Regions from separate parts of the Homo sapiens genome. Here regions 1, 2, 3 and 5 are each linked to region 4. Evidence: promoter capture Hi-C in 16 types of primary human blood cells and fetal thymus (Javierre and others, 2016). All regions are on one chromosome and are shown on one strand. The core of a region is centred on a gene start or on the middle of the fragment in contact, and the rest is flanking DNA. Distances in the headings are between cores, read along the strand shown. Region 1 overlaps ZNF106 (zinc finger protein 106). Region 2 overlaps ZNF106 (zinc finger protein 106). Region 3 overlaps ZNF106 (zinc finger protein 106). Region 4 holds the start of PLA2G4F (phospholipase A2 group IVF). Region 5 overlaps ZNF106 (zinc finger protein 106).

Region 1 (2,903 bases), core at 9-2,508, 300 kb before region 4:
GCTTTCTTGAATAAATTTTTTTTGATAAGTGTCAAGATAATTTAAGCAATATAAATTTTCTAATTTGTACTGCATAATTTCATACCTACATTTATACATTCAGGTATTAGGCATTTATGTTTTTACCTTACTGCTTTCTGGTCTAAAGAGTTTAATTATAAAATTTGTTAAAAAGAGTTTAATTAATGAGGTAGAAATTTTCAATGTGAGGGAAAGAGAGAGAGAAGCACTTATGAGGTGGGATAATTTTTTAAGTCCCAGAACATGAAGAGAATCATTTCAGATTCTAAAATAAAAATTTAAAGATTCTTCTTTGAATACTAGTTATACCCCGTCTGTACCTCCTTTTTAGTCAGAGGCTTAACTATAAAAAGGAAGTTGTTTTTACTCTATATGTTAAAAGTTTTTTTGCCGGGAGGAACGGTGGCTCAGGCCTATTGTCCTGGTGCATGAGGAGACGAGGCCAGGGCTTTAAGACCAGCCTGGGCAACATAGGAAGCCCTTATCTATGTAATAACAACAACAAAAAATTAAAATTAAAAAAAAGTTTTTTGAACAATTCCTTGAAGGAGACTTTCTTCATCTTAAAATATCAGTAAAGGGTGAGCATCCCTAATCCAAAGTCTGAAAATGCACCAAAATCCAAAACATTTGAGTGCCAACATGAGGCCACCAGTGGAAAATTCCACACCTCATTTCATTTTACAAAATTATTCAAAATATTACCTAAAATTATCATCAGACTGTGTATAAAAGGTGTATATGAAACATAAATGAATTTTATGTTTAGACTTGGGTCCCATTCCCGTAATATCCCATTATGTATATGCAAAAATATTCCAAAATCCAAAGCAGTTTGAAATGCAAAACCTTTCTGGTCCCAAGCATTTCAGATACGGGACACTCAAACCACATGGTTCTTAAATCATTTAGTAGCTTAGTCCTTCAAATGACATTTTCATTACTTTTAATATAGTTGCAGTTTACTTTATCCTGCTTTAGGCAGTTGGAGCCTCTGGGAGACTTCTATTTTGTTCTTACATACTAGTGCCATTATTAGCTTTATCTGTGTAAATAATTAAACATTAAGTCAGAATAGATTAGACATTTGTATCATAGTTACTATTTTTTGAGTCTTTTGATGTGCCTCCTTGATGACCTATTTATAAAATCATCTACTTCTTTTTTTTTTTTGAGACAGGGTGTCGGTCTGTCACCCAGGCTTGAGTGCAGTGGCACGATGACACCTCACTGCAGCCTCAACTTCCTAGGCTCCAACAGTCCTCCCACCTCAACCTCCCGAGAAGCTGGAACTACAGGCATGCATCGCCACCATGCGTGGCTAATTTTTTTTTTTTTATTTTTATTTTTGGTAGAGATGGGGTTTAGCCATGTCACCCAGGCTGGCCTCGAACTTCTGGGCTCAAGTGATCCACCCACCTTGGCCTCCCAAAGTGCTGAGATTACAGGCATGAGCCACCACACCTGGACAAAATCATCTACTTCTTCAGGAGTATTTTTTTTTTTCTTTTTTCCTTCATGAATTTTTAACTTAGATTATTCTTTCTGGTCTATGGGTTTAGCTGAATGCTCCTATCTTCTGAATCTAGCCAATTCATGATGATCTAGGAATTCTACTTTGTGATTTATTTATCCCCCAGTTCTCCCATTTCTGATCATATCAGTATAGCTGAGTCAGTGGTCTCCTTGGATGCCAGAAGTTGCATATTGCATAGAATCAAAAGATAAAGGCAATTTGGTTAATGGTTATAAAAAAATTCTGCTACTGCATGTAATAATACTTGTTACTTTCTAAAGAGTCTCCTGTTTAGAAATGATTGTAATTTATATAATATGAGTGGATGTTTGAACTTCTAAATAGACTTTTAAATTCCGTCTTGTGAAAAAGGAAGAAGTTCCAATTTGTGTCCAAAATATCATAGACATTGAAAGCCTTTAAAGCCAATTAAAGTCAGTATTGAGTTTAAGATTTTTAAGTCAAGGTCAGAGGAAGGAACTTAAATGTGGAAACTTTGTTTTGAGATGTTGATTCTCTGAAGGCCTGTGGTTAAGAGTATAGACTCTGGCTGGAGTCAGATTGCCAAGGATTAAATCTCTGCTCTACTGCTTTCTGGCTATCTTATTCTAGGCAAGTTATGTATTCTCTCTACTGCTCAATTTCTCATCTATAAAGTAGGAATAATAAGAATACATGCCATGCCTGTAATCCCAGCACTTTGGGAGGCTGAGGTGGGCGGATCACGAGGTCAGGAGTTCAAGACCAGCCTGGCCAACATGGTGGAACCCCGTCTCTACTAAAAATACAAAAATTAGCCAGGCGTGGTGGCGGGAGCCTGTAATCCCAGCTACTCAGGAGGCTGAGGCAGGAGAATCGCTTGAACTCGAGAGGCAGAGGTTGCAGTGAGCCAAGATCGTGCCATTGCACTCCAGCCTGGGCGACAAAGCGAGACTCCATCTCCAAAAAAAAAAAAAAAATACTTGCCTCAGGATTATAAAAACTAAGTGAGATAATCTATATAAGGTGCTTAGCATTAAATGCCTGACACTCAGGTACTCAGTAAATTTTAGCTAGCAGTACTCAGTATTTTGAGCACTTACCACATGCTAAGCACCATGCCCATGCACACCATAGGCAGTTTGTAGAAGAAAATGGTTTTTACACCTATTGCTGTGATGCTTACTGAAGCTTATTCATGTTTCTGTGGACTCCTCGTCTGACATGAACATGAAACAGCTGTAGTTTCTTTTTAAAAACCTCTGGCTCATGAAGCTCCTTATAGCACATATTATGGTTACTACTTGTTTGGTATATGCTATTTTCCTCCTGTTTGTGACCTTACTGTCTCAGCTAGGTTCTAAGGCCTTCACAAACTGGAACTGTA
Region 2 (2,798 bases), core at 65-2,564, 280 kb before region 4:
CACAGGTGCGCGCCATCACGCCTGGCAAATTTTTTTTTGTATTTTTAGTAGAGACAGGGTTTCGTCATGTTGGCCAGGCTGGTCTCGAACTCCTGGCCTCAAGTGATCCTCCTGCCTTGTCCTCCCAAAGTGCTGGGACTACAGGCGTGAGCCACCATGCCTGGCCTTTCTCATCTGTCTTATCCGGCTCCCTTATCTGTTCAACTAATTAGTATTAAGGTTTCATTGGCTCTAAGGATATTTGCTTTCAGAAGGAACTGCTTAAGGAATACTACATTACTCAAAGAAATAACTTTTTGGAAGTGTGGGAGAGATTGGATACCTTCCAAGTATCACTCAAAGCTCTTTTTCTTTTTTTTTTTTTTTTTGAGACGGAGTCGTTGTCGCCCAGGCTGGAGTCCAGTGGTGTGATCTTGGCTCACTGCAACCTCTGCCTCTGGGTTCAAGTGATTCTCTTGCCTCAGCCTCCCCAAATAACTGGGACTACAGGCTCACGCTACCACACCTGGCTAATGTTTGTATTTTTAGTAGAGATGGGGTTTCACCATGTTGGCTAGGCTGGTCTCCAACTCCTGACCTCAGGTGATCCGTCCATTTTGGCCTCCCAAAGTGCTGGGATTACAGGTGTGAGTCACCACGCCTGGCCCAAAAGCTCATTATATAATTATCTATCTTTTTCCTAAGTGAAAGGCCTTCTCTGCCTTTGCTTATCATGCAGTCTTCATAGTGAAGATGGGTATTGAAAATTGTAGTAGTCTGATAGGGGAACTAAGATTTAAGGGATCTACTTTTGGTTTAATCTAGGGACTACTGTATTGTATAATAGTTCTGATTTTTGAGTATCTTTTCAGACTCTAGCAGACATGTCTCTGAAACCTATTCTTGTTTTCCAGAAATATCTTCAGAGCCAGGAGATGATGATGAACCCACAGAAGGAAGCTTTGAGGGACACCAAGCTGCCGTAAATGCAATTCAGATATTTGGGAACTTGCTATATACCTGTTCAGCAGATAAAACTGTTCGGGTTTATAATCTGGTGGTAAGTTGATAGAACATGTAGAATGTTTTTGGTTGCAGGTTTTGGAAAATCCAGTTTATACTTTTTTAAACAATAAAGGGAATTTGTTGGCTGTCTGAAGGAAGGGGTGGGCCTGAGATTGACTTTAGATGCATTTAATCCAGAAGCTCAGCAAGGTCACTGGGGACTTAATTTCTTTTTGTCTCCCTACTCTGCCTTCTCTGGTATCACCTCTTCCTGAAAGCTAGTTCCCCTCCTGCTTACAGGGTAAATGTCAGGAGCCACTGGAGTCTCTTTTTCCCTCCCACCAGCACAGAAGGGTCCTGTGTTTTACTCCCTGAACGATCACCTTTGCCTGTGGCAAAGGGGGTTGGGATTACACCAGTGGTCTTGGACTGTTCAGGTCCCAATGCTGGAGTTGGTAATGGGGTCACTTGCATAGCAGCTACATAATAGAGGAGGGATGAAGTGAATATGGGGAAGTACTGGAGGAGGTATTTTCCCTGACAAGTGATTGATTACAGAGTTCAAGTTATTAAGGAGAGCAACACTTTTCCACTGCCTCACACTTAGTATTATCTGATGCTTATTACTCTCAAAAGAATGAACTTTTGAGTTTTGAATTTGAATTTGTTAATAAACTAATTATGTTTATGAACAATGAAAGCTTAAGAAATTTGAAGAACATGATGTCTGAATGAATACCATGAAAATATTTAAAATTGCTAGAGTCAGTGAAAATTAAAAAGTTAGATGATGGACCAGGAAAATGTGTTTGCTATATAGGCAACAGGTGTGTAGATTCCTTTAGCTTAATGATATGAGGATTAACACGAATGACTGAAAAAAGGAAGCAGTGCTACCAGGATGTATAAGTGTAAGATCTAGGGGAACAGGATATCAAAATATGTATGTGTATGTATATATGTACATTCTAAATAGATCTCAGTATGTGCACTGAGATAACATTTGGAATGTACCCATAAGAAACACCACCAGTGGCCGGGCACAGTGGCTCACACCTATAATCCCAGCAGTTTGGGAGGCCAAGGTGGGTGGATCATGAGGTCAGGAGATTGAGACCATCCTGGCTAACATGGTGAAACCCCATCTCTACTAAAAATACAAAAAATTAGCCGGGGGTGGTGGCGGGCACCTGTAGTCCCAGCTACTTGGGAGGCTGAGGCAGGAGAATGGTGTGAACCCAGGAGGCAGAGCTTGCAGTGAGCTGAGATCGCGCCACTGCACTCCAGCCTGGGGGACAGAGCGAGACTCTGTCAAAAAAAAAAAAAAAGAAACAACACCAGAACCACTAGACCTGTGATAGCACCTGACGTTTTTGAATACCATGGTGCATTCTCACAAACTGCTTATCAAATGCTCATCTTTTGTGGGAAATTAGCTGCAGTTTGGATTTGCTAGGTCCTTGGTCCATATGTCAGAAAGCTTTGCCCTAAACGTTAATTAAAATTCTGGCTGTCTTACAGTGTTGCCATAAGTATTTTCTGGTATGGCTCAACTAACATATACTTTCAGATACCTCATTGCCTGTGACTGTTTGCTAGGCACTTGGTGAACATACATTTACTGAGCATCTTTTGTGTACCAGGTGCTGTTTTAGACATGAGGATACAGCAGTGAACTGAATGTTTTAGCATCTTTTTGTTGAGGAAATATATTATCTAATCCTCCTATATCTCATAAGTAATAATCTGGTCTGTGCTTAAACTTTAGAGTCGGAAATGTATTGGTGTCTTTGAGGGTCATACCTCCAAAGTTA
Region 3 (2,700 bases), core at 31-2,530, 320 kb before region 4:
AATCTTACTTTAGTGTTTTGAATTTTATTTTTTATTTTTATTTTTTGAGACAGAGTCTCGCTGTGTCGCCCAGGCTAGAGTGCAGGGGCGTCATCTCGGCTCACTGCAACCTCTGCCTCCTGGGTTCAAGCGATTCTCCTGCCTCAGCCTCCCGAGTAGCTGGGATTACAGGCACGTGCCACCATACCCAGCTAATTTTTGTATTTTTAATAGAGACATGTTGGCCAGGCTGGTCTTGAACTCCTGACCTCAAGTTATCCACCCACCTCGGCCTCCCAAAGTGCTGGGATTATAGGCATGAGCCACCATGCCTGGCCTGAACTTTATTATTGAATAAAATTATTTAGGCATTCAGTAATATTATGAAGTGGGTTGCATGGCAAGAAAACTGCCGAGTAATCACAGGAGTGGAGAACCTTAGGCCTCTTTCATTGGTCCTTCTGCCATATTATCTAGGAGTTACAGATTAAACTGTGGTAGTTTGTAACCTCATTATGTCACAGTTTTAAAATCTCCTAAGGAATGTACCCCAAATGAGGAAGCAGATCTATTAGAGCCTGATGTTTTCTGTAGAAGAAGGAACAATGCTGCTTGGGGAGTAGATTTAAAATTTCATATAGAGCATCTCTAGCAGGGACTTGAGGAAAGTGTGCTAGTGCCAGAGGATTATGAAAGAGTAAACCATTGTTGAGTCTTAATCTAAACCCCTGGTATTTTCTTTCTTTCTTTCTTTCTTTTTATAGAGAGCCTTACTCTTACCCAGGGTGGAAGTACAGTGGCACAATCATAGCTCATTATAACCTCAAACTCCTGGGCTCAAGGAATCCTCCTTGCTGTGCCTCCCAAGTAGCTGGGATTACAGGCATGAGCCATAGTACCCAGCTAATTCTTTCATTTTTTGTAGAGACACTATGTTGCCCAGACTGGTGTTGAACTCCTGTCCTCAAGTGATCCTATCACCTCAGCCTCCCAAGGTGCTGTGATTACAGCTGTGAGCCACTGTGCCTGGCCTCAAACCCTGCTATTTACTCAGCTCAGTTACTAAACTCACATTTAGTAACCCAAGATGGATAGTTCCATTTGGAATAATCAACAAATACTTTTGAATTCCTTATGATATGTCATACACTGTTCTAAGTGCTAGACCGAACTATACTAGTGAACAAAATATGCAAAGTCCTTTTTCTCACGGAATTTAAATTTTAATTGGCAGAGACAGAGAATAACAAATACATACTATGTCAGGTAGTAAAAGATAATGTTCCAGATGTCACTTGTTCATAAACTATTCCAAAATTTCCTGGCTTAAAACAACTCTTGTATTGTGTCTCACAATTCTCTGGGTTGAAGAGGGCTTATCTGGATGGTGTATGTATTGGTCTCACTTGGGGGTCTCTCATTGGTGGCTGGACCTGGAGCCCCCAAGATGGCTCACGCTTCTGGCTGTCAGTTGGTCCTGCTTGTTGTTTGGGTACTCAGTGGGGGCCTCAGTTCTTTTTTTACCTGGCCTTTCCCTGTGGCTTTGGCTTCTCACAGCACGGTGGCTGGCTTTCAAGAGGGAGTGTAACAAGTGGGCAGAGGCAGAAGGTACAGATTTCTGAAAGCCCAGCCTCTTAAGTTATACAGCATCACTTCTGCCACATTTTATTGATCAAAATAGTTCACAGGGAGGGGAAACAGACTCCATCCACCTTTTCATGGATGGTGGCAAGATCACATTGCAAAAGAGCACATGGGGTAGCAGATATTGTTGAGGCCTTCTATGGAAACATGATCTACCACAGTGCTATAAAAAATTAAGCAGGTTAATAGGGGAATAGAGAAACTGGAACTATGTGGAGAGGTGGGGTGTCAGAAAGTGCAATATTATGTAGAGGGTTAGGCAGGGCCTCTCCCATAAGGCAATATTTTAGATACCTGATGGAAATGAATGAGCCACGGGAACCATAAGGACTTTTTAAGGAAGAATATTCCAGGCAGAGAACAGAAAATGTAGAGGTGCAAAGGTGGGAGGATCTGTGATGTGAACAAAGAATAGCAACGAGGGGAATGCAAGTGCACCAGAATGATAGAGGAAGAACGGGAGGGCATGCGAATGATTCGGAGAGGAAGAGAGAAACAGATATTGTAGCCATGGCAAAGACTAGGTTTTCTGTGAGTGAGATGGACGCCATTGGGAAATTCTGAGCAGAGGAATTACATACAGGTTGAGTTCCTTTATCCGAAATGCTTGGGACCAAAAGTGTTGTGGAGTTCAGATTTTTTCGGATCTTGGAATATTTGCGTACTTACTGGCTGAACATCCCAAATCGGAACATTCCAAATCTAAACTGCTCCAGCGGGCATTTCCTTTGAGCATCATGTTGACACCCAAAAAGTTTCCGGTTTTGGATCATTTCAGATTTCAGATTTCAGATTTTTAGATTTGGAATTTTCAACCTGTATATGTTCTAACTTAAACTTGTTTTTTTTTTTTTTTTCAAAGTTGGAGTCTTGCTCTGTCGCCCAGGCTGGAGTGCCGTGGTGCAATCTCAGCTCACTGCAACCTCCGCTCTTGGGTTCAAGCAATTCTGCCTTAGCCTCCTGAGTAGCTGGTATTACAGGCACCTGCCACCACACCCAGCTAATTTATGTATTTTGAGTAGAGACGGGGTTTCACCATGTTGGCCAGGCTGGTCTCTAACTCCTGACCTCGTGATC
Region 4 (2,753 bases), core at 132-2,631:
ACTGGCAGTCACACATTCCTTTTTTGGGGGGAGTTTCTGGTCTGAACTTGCCCATTCGGTTCATTTTGGAGTTGAATCACATCTTTTTTGGATGTTGTATTTTTCAGCCTGTGACTCTAGGCCTTGGGAAGAGTGGAGATGACTGAATCTTAGTTGAGGGACAGAAATTCTCTCCCTCCCACAGTTCACGGCCCCCGAGATCCTCACTCTTCCTGGAGACTGTGCCTGTCTCAGCCACCTTGATGGTTGTGGTCCACAGAAGAGCGAACATCACATCCATCTGCAGCCTAAGGCCTACGATGGCCAAAGAGAATGCTAAAGCCTGTATATCTGGTCGCTGAAGGATACGTAGACTTGTTGTTTGGCCTGTCCTTATTTATAACCCCCTGCCCATATGCCTGTCTGTACCTGGACACTGTACACTGACCCAGGAAGCGAGCCTGGGCCAAAGCCACAGGGAGTCATGAGACTGAATTTCTCCAGGATGTGGATGGGCCCGCCTCACCTCTGTCACCTTTGCGTTTCTGGGCCTAGCACAGGTCTGGCACCCACCAGGCTCTTGGTGTTTGGCGAATTAATGAGGGTGGTCAGGAGAGATTAAAAACATCTTTGATGAGTTCATGTCCTTTGTAGGGACATGGATGAAGCTGGAAACCATCATTCTGAGCAAACTATCGCAAGGACAGAAAACCAAACACCACATGTTCTCACTCATAGGTGGGAATTGAACAATGAGAACACTTAGACACAGGGCGGGGAACATCACACACCGGGGCATGTCGGGGGGCAGGGGGCATGGGGGAGGGATAGCATTAGGAGAAATACCTAATGTAAATGACGAGTTAATGGGTGCAGCACACCAATATGGCACATGTATACACATGTAACAAACCTGCACGTTGTGCACATGTACCGTAGAACTTAAAGTATAATTAGAAAATATATATAAAGAGAGAAACATCTTTGATCCCAGATGAAACACTGAAGCAGAGATTTCTAGGCTTCAGCTTAAGAGCCGCAGGGAAGGTGGGACTTGAAGGGTGGCTAGTTTCAGGCCTTTTCCACAGCTGGAGGAGACTCTTCCCTGATTTGCACTTGCCAGCTGGTCTCTGGGCCAGCTGTGCCAGCTTCACCTAGAGGTCTTGTTGGAAATAGCTCCGGTGTCTATTTTTCACAAACAGCCCAGTGATAACCAGGGCGCTGGGTTTGGGAACAAGAGTGCTAACCAGAGACCCCAAGAGTCTCTTGGAGAGGGACTGAGCTGCCTCCTGCCTGGGGAAATTAAGCTCCAGTCACTTCCTGGAGCATGTCAAACTCCACCTCCAGCAGGCCATCCAGCCTGAGTTCTCTGCAGAGCAGGCAGCTCCACCCTCCCAACTCAGTGCTGCCTGTCACACCTGAGCCAGCAGTTTGTGCAACCAGAGGAGCGCAGGCAGGGTTCCCTGCTGGGGCCCGGGCTGCCCAGCCATGCTTTGGGCACTCTGGCCAAGGTGGCTGGCAGACAAGATGCTGCCCCTCCTGGGGGCAGTGCTGCTTCAGAAGAGAGAGAAGAGGGGCCCTCTGTGGAGGCACTGGCGGGTAACGTACCTGAGATTACCTGGGAAACCCGGACTGGGGGAGTCCTGGGAGCTGCAGTGCCCTGTGAAGACTGAGACCAGCCCCAGCCCTGGGTTTTGAGTTGGGGTGGGACCTGTTTATTCTAGATGACCTGGCAGAGCTTAAATTAGACCTTGGCTCTTAAAAATAGCTCCCTCCGATTAGGAAATGGAGGGTTAGTTCACTTGACACTTGTCTGGGGTGGGTTGGCTTTCACCAAGGATGCGCGAGCCTGGCTGTAGAGTCCACGGAGCTGGTGGGGTTGTGAGGGGAGAGTTTCCCTCCCAGTAGGCAGCATGCTGATGTTATCTCTCCTAAGCCCAGCTGCAATCTGCTCGGTGACTCGTCAGACCGGTACCGGCCGGCCGGTGACTCTCGGCTTCCGCTCACCTGCTCGCTGCCTCCTAGACGGTCTTTGAGCCTCTGTCAGGGAGCAAGCAAGGGAGGGGGTGTCACAGTTTTCTCTTTTAATATTTAATCTTCTCAAGCACAACATTAGCACAGCTCTCACAGCTGCTCCCAAGCTAGAGTGGGGGCGCGAGCGTCTGAGGGGAGCTGCAGGTGTGTGGTGCGTGACAGCCATCGTTAGTTCAGTGAGTCCGTGCTGGATTTAGATTTGAACCCAGACCGGATGGGTTCCAGGGTCCAGACACATCACGAAGGTGCTGAACTCCCAATGCCTGGGACCCGCCAAGGTCTCCCTGCTCCCCGGCACAGAGACGTCAGTGACCCTATGCCAGGTTGCTGCTCCATGATGGGACGAGGGGAACAATGGGGCGAGGGACCAGGCTCACACTAGCTGACTGAGTCCCTGGAGTTCTGTTATTGCAGCGGGAAACCTACCCATACTATGACCTCCAGGTGAAGGTGCTGAGGGCCACAAACATCCGGGGCACAGACCTGCGTGAGTGACCCCATCTCCATCCTTCTCTCTGTCCTTTCCCTGCGGCTTCCTCAGAGCTCAGCTCAGGCTGGCTAACAGAGAGTGTGTGTGTGTAAGAGTATACATGGGTGAGTACAAGTGAGAGTGCATGTGTGTATACATGTGTGAGTATACGTGTAGGCATCTGTGCAAGTATGTGTGAGTGCAAGTGTGAGTACATGTGTATACGTGTGTGTGAGTGCGTGTATATGTGGTGTAAACATGTGAGTGCGAG
Region 5 (2,802 bases), core at 52-2,551, 260 kb before region 4:
GATAGAAAGCTCAGTGTGAGGCAGTGCGTAGACCTAACGTCTACCTTTACATCTGCTGTTGAACCTGGGCACTACCTGTTACAGATCCTGTCAGGCTGTTGAACTGGAGGTGTACCTTTATCTTCCTTTCTAGTGTCTGACCCTGCAAGCCTAATGTTGGTTTGAACCCTTTTGGTTTGTTCAGTTGCCAGCCTCCATCTCTCCCACTGTATGGCCGTGCCTAGACCGATGGCAGCCATCGAATATTCCTCTGGGCTCACGGGGTGTTTTCCACCCCCCTGCAGCAACTAAGATGGTGGGGGAGAGGGGGTTAGAATAAAGCATCTGAATACAGTTTTCAGGACCTCAAGCAGACTTCCTAGAGACTTGTTTCTGAGACAGTTCTTTGCCTTCACTTCCCTGCTAGCTGGGAAAGAAGAGTGGAGCAGAGACTCTGCCTGGCCACTGAGAACAGCCAAATTCACAAACCCTCAGTGGGGCTTTGTTTTTGGATTTTCTCCGGACTCATCAGTAAACCTGTAGAAGTGTCGCTTTCCAGCCTTTTGTTTCTGGATCCTCAAAACTCAGAACGTGGCCGGGCGTGGTGGCTCACGCCTGTAATCCCAGCACTTTGGGAGGCTGAGGCAGGCAGATCACCTGAGGCTAGGAGTTGCAGACCAGCCTGGCCAACATGGCAAAACCCCGTCTCTACTAAAAATACAAAAAGCCGGGCGTGGTGGGCGCCTGTAATCCCAGCTGCTCAGGAGGCTGAGGCAGGAGAATCGCTTGAACCCGGGAGGCAGAGATTGCAGTAAGCTGAGATCGTGCCACTGCACTCCAGCCTGGTGACAGAGTGAGACTCCGTCTCAAAAAAAAAAAAAAAAACTCAGCTTCTTCAGAGAGATAAAATTGGGGGAGGAGCCCAGGGCCACATACCAAGCTTTGGGACATGGTGCCTCATGCTCTCTGGGATTGCAGACCATCCAGGTCTGTCTTCGCCCCTGTTAGTGCACATATATCCACTCACATGTCTTCCCTCAGGCTATCGGGCAGGGGGACTTCACCAGGGGGTTTATGGATAGGCTTCAAGAGGGTCTGTGAGCCCCCAGAAATTGTGTGTGAGACTGAGTATGTGTTCTTTTTTCCAGGAAAGGCTCCAGTGGTTCTTACTTGATCCAAAAAATGTCAAGAATTAATCTAGGAGGCCGGGCCTGGTGGCTCACACCTGTAATCCCAGCTCTTTGGGAGGCCGAGGCGGGTGGATCACTCAAGGTCAGGCATTTGAGACCAGCCTGGCCAACATAGTGAAACCCCGTCTCTATTAAAAATACAAAAATTAGCTGGGTGTGGTGGTATGTGCCTGTAGTCTCAGCTACTCAGGAGGCTGAGACAGGAGAATCACTTGAACCCTGGAGGTAGAAGTTGCAGTGAGCCAAGATCATACTACTGCACTCCAGCCTGGGCGACAAGAGTGAAACTCCACCTCAAAAAAAAAAAAAAAAGAGTTAATCTAGGAGATAATGAATGGCCTAGTACTAGATAATATATGGCCCCACAAGCTCTTGACTTCTGTCCTTGGGGAAAGCCATTTTGTTAACCACACTAGTGAGATTTACATGATGCTTAATGGAGAACAGAGAAGATCTTGTTGCAAAAGGTGTATTAAATATTTGTGCTGTTTCTGTATGAGATTGAGAAGCTTTTCCCACCTCTCACCCCTATTTCCTATAAGGATATCCAGAGAAGCCAAACTGTTCTGTGGGTTTGGGAATGGTCATTTCCCGGGAAAATGCATCTGGATCGATGACTAAACCTGGCCCTTTTCTCTGGGCTGTAGTGAAGCCGCATTTTCACGCTGGCTGGCAGTGTGCTGAGAGCCTCGAATGCTCTGCGGCGTAGTGCCCTTCTGCCCTGCCTGACGATGTATCGAAAAGATGAGAGTGAAGGAGACTTTGTGCAGCAGGAAACGGGTAGGTGAGGTGTTGGGCAGTTGTGGGAACTTCTGAGAGTATTACAGAGTGGTAGAATCGGTAAGAACTCTGATTTGGACTTCGCTTTGGTGGAACTGTGTGCCTATACCTGCCTGTGTGTGTGCAAGTGTGCAGGTTCCTTTGTATGTATGTGTACGTGTGGGAACCTGTGTTTGTCATATTTTTCTTCATTTCACAAAGGCTTTTTTTGAAGCAGTGGCAGTATGCCTTTGTTTCAAGAACACATGAAATTCTTTTAACACCAGATTAGTGTGTTACCCCAAATGAACGGTTCTAGCCCTCTATTAAGAAATAAAGGGACCATAAGCATTTTGGCTGCTTATGGCTGTGTGTTACTACTTACAAGAGTCTTGAAAATTATACAGAACTTTGCCTTCTTTTTTTAATGTCTTCCACAATGTTGTGACTGATTATAACCCTGTTTCCCCTCAGAGAAGAGCTATGGCTCAGGGATCTGTGTTGACTCTGGCATTTAGTGGCTTTGTGAAGGAAAGAAACCATTAAATGACCTGACAAAAACTGACTCATGTCTTTAAAGTAGTTGAAGCCACTTTTAGAATGTTACTCTCGGTTGCTTTTGTCTAATTCTAATGGCTTAAAGCCAAGAAAACCATAGTATAAATCTTTTTGTGTACCTATGCTAGTGTTTAAATGGCAGTTCGTTGTGATAAAGTATCAGTCACTTCAAGTTTTCTGTGAAAGTTTTTAATTAGGTTAAAAATAATTTTGGCATACGTCTCTACTCAGTTTATAAAGCAGTTCCACACCATGCAAACAAAACTCTAACAGCAAAGGTTATCTTGACCTGATGTTACTTGAATCTGAGAGAAAG

Evidence for each region. Contacts are between HindIII fragments. The CHiCAGO score rates a contact against its expected background, and 5 or more counts as called.
Region 1: a contact is called between a fragment that was not itself captured here and the fragment with the promoter of PLA2G4F in region 4, in 2 of 17 cell types (megakaryocytes and endothelial precursors). The highest score is 6.3, in megakaryocytes.
Region 2: a fragment that was not itself captured here is called in contact with the fragment with the promoter of PLA2G4F in region 4 in 1 of 17 cell types (endothelial precursors); the score reaches 5.8 in endothelial precursors.
Region 3: a contact is called between a fragment that was not itself captured here and the fragment with the promoter of PLA2G4F in region 4, in 2 of 17 cell types (endothelial precursors and megakaryocytes). The highest score is 5.9, in endothelial precursors.
Region 5: a fragment that was not itself captured here is called in contact with the fragment with the promoter of PLA2G4F in region 4 in 1 of 17 cell types (endothelial precursors); the score reaches 5.2 in endothelial precursors.

The regions. Positions count from the first base shown.
Region 1 is chr15:42,453,190-42,456,092 of GRCh38, reverse strand. All of the region lies in intron 4 of ZNF106 (zinc finger protein 106), which reads left to right. Among named protein-coding and RNA genes, the nearest start is that of ZNF106, 36 kb to the left of the region's middle. The HindIII fragment of the contact is 2,903 bases long and covers 1-2,709 here.
Region 2 is chr15:42,435,473-42,438,270 of GRCh38, reverse strand. It overlaps ZNF106 (zinc finger protein 106), which reads left to right. Exons shown (of 22, transcript NM_001366845.3): 13 at 894-1,039; 14 at 2,753-2,798. Among named protein-coding and RNA genes, the nearest start is that of ZNF106, 54 kb to the left of the region's middle. The HindIII fragment of the contact is 746 bases long and covers 942-1,687 here.
Region 3 is chr15:42,472,788-42,475,487 of GRCh38, reverse strand. The region is part of intron 1 of ZNF106 (zinc finger protein 106); the gene reads left to right. Among named protein-coding and RNA genes, the nearest start is that of ZNF106, 17 kb to the left of the region's middle. The HindIII fragment of the contact is 4,164 bases long and covers 1-2,700 here.
Region 4 is chr15:42,155,264-42,158,016 of GRCh38, reverse strand. PLA2G4F (phospholipase A2 group IVF) reads left to right here and starts at 1,381. Exons shown (of 20, transcript NM_213600.4): 1 at 1,381-1,578; 2 at 2,428-2,500. The coding sequence starts at 1,468. RefSeq lists an enhancer at 941-1,656. The HindIII fragment of the contact is 5,494 bases long and covers 1-2,753 here.
Region 5 is chr15:42,413,802-42,416,603 of GRCh38, reverse strand. ZNF106 (zinc finger protein 106) reads left to right here. Exons shown (of 22, transcript NM_001366845.3): 22 at 1-2,802. Among named protein-coding and RNA genes, the nearest start is that of CAPN3, 56 kb to the right of the region's middle. The HindIII fragment of the contact is 759 bases long and covers 922-1,680 here.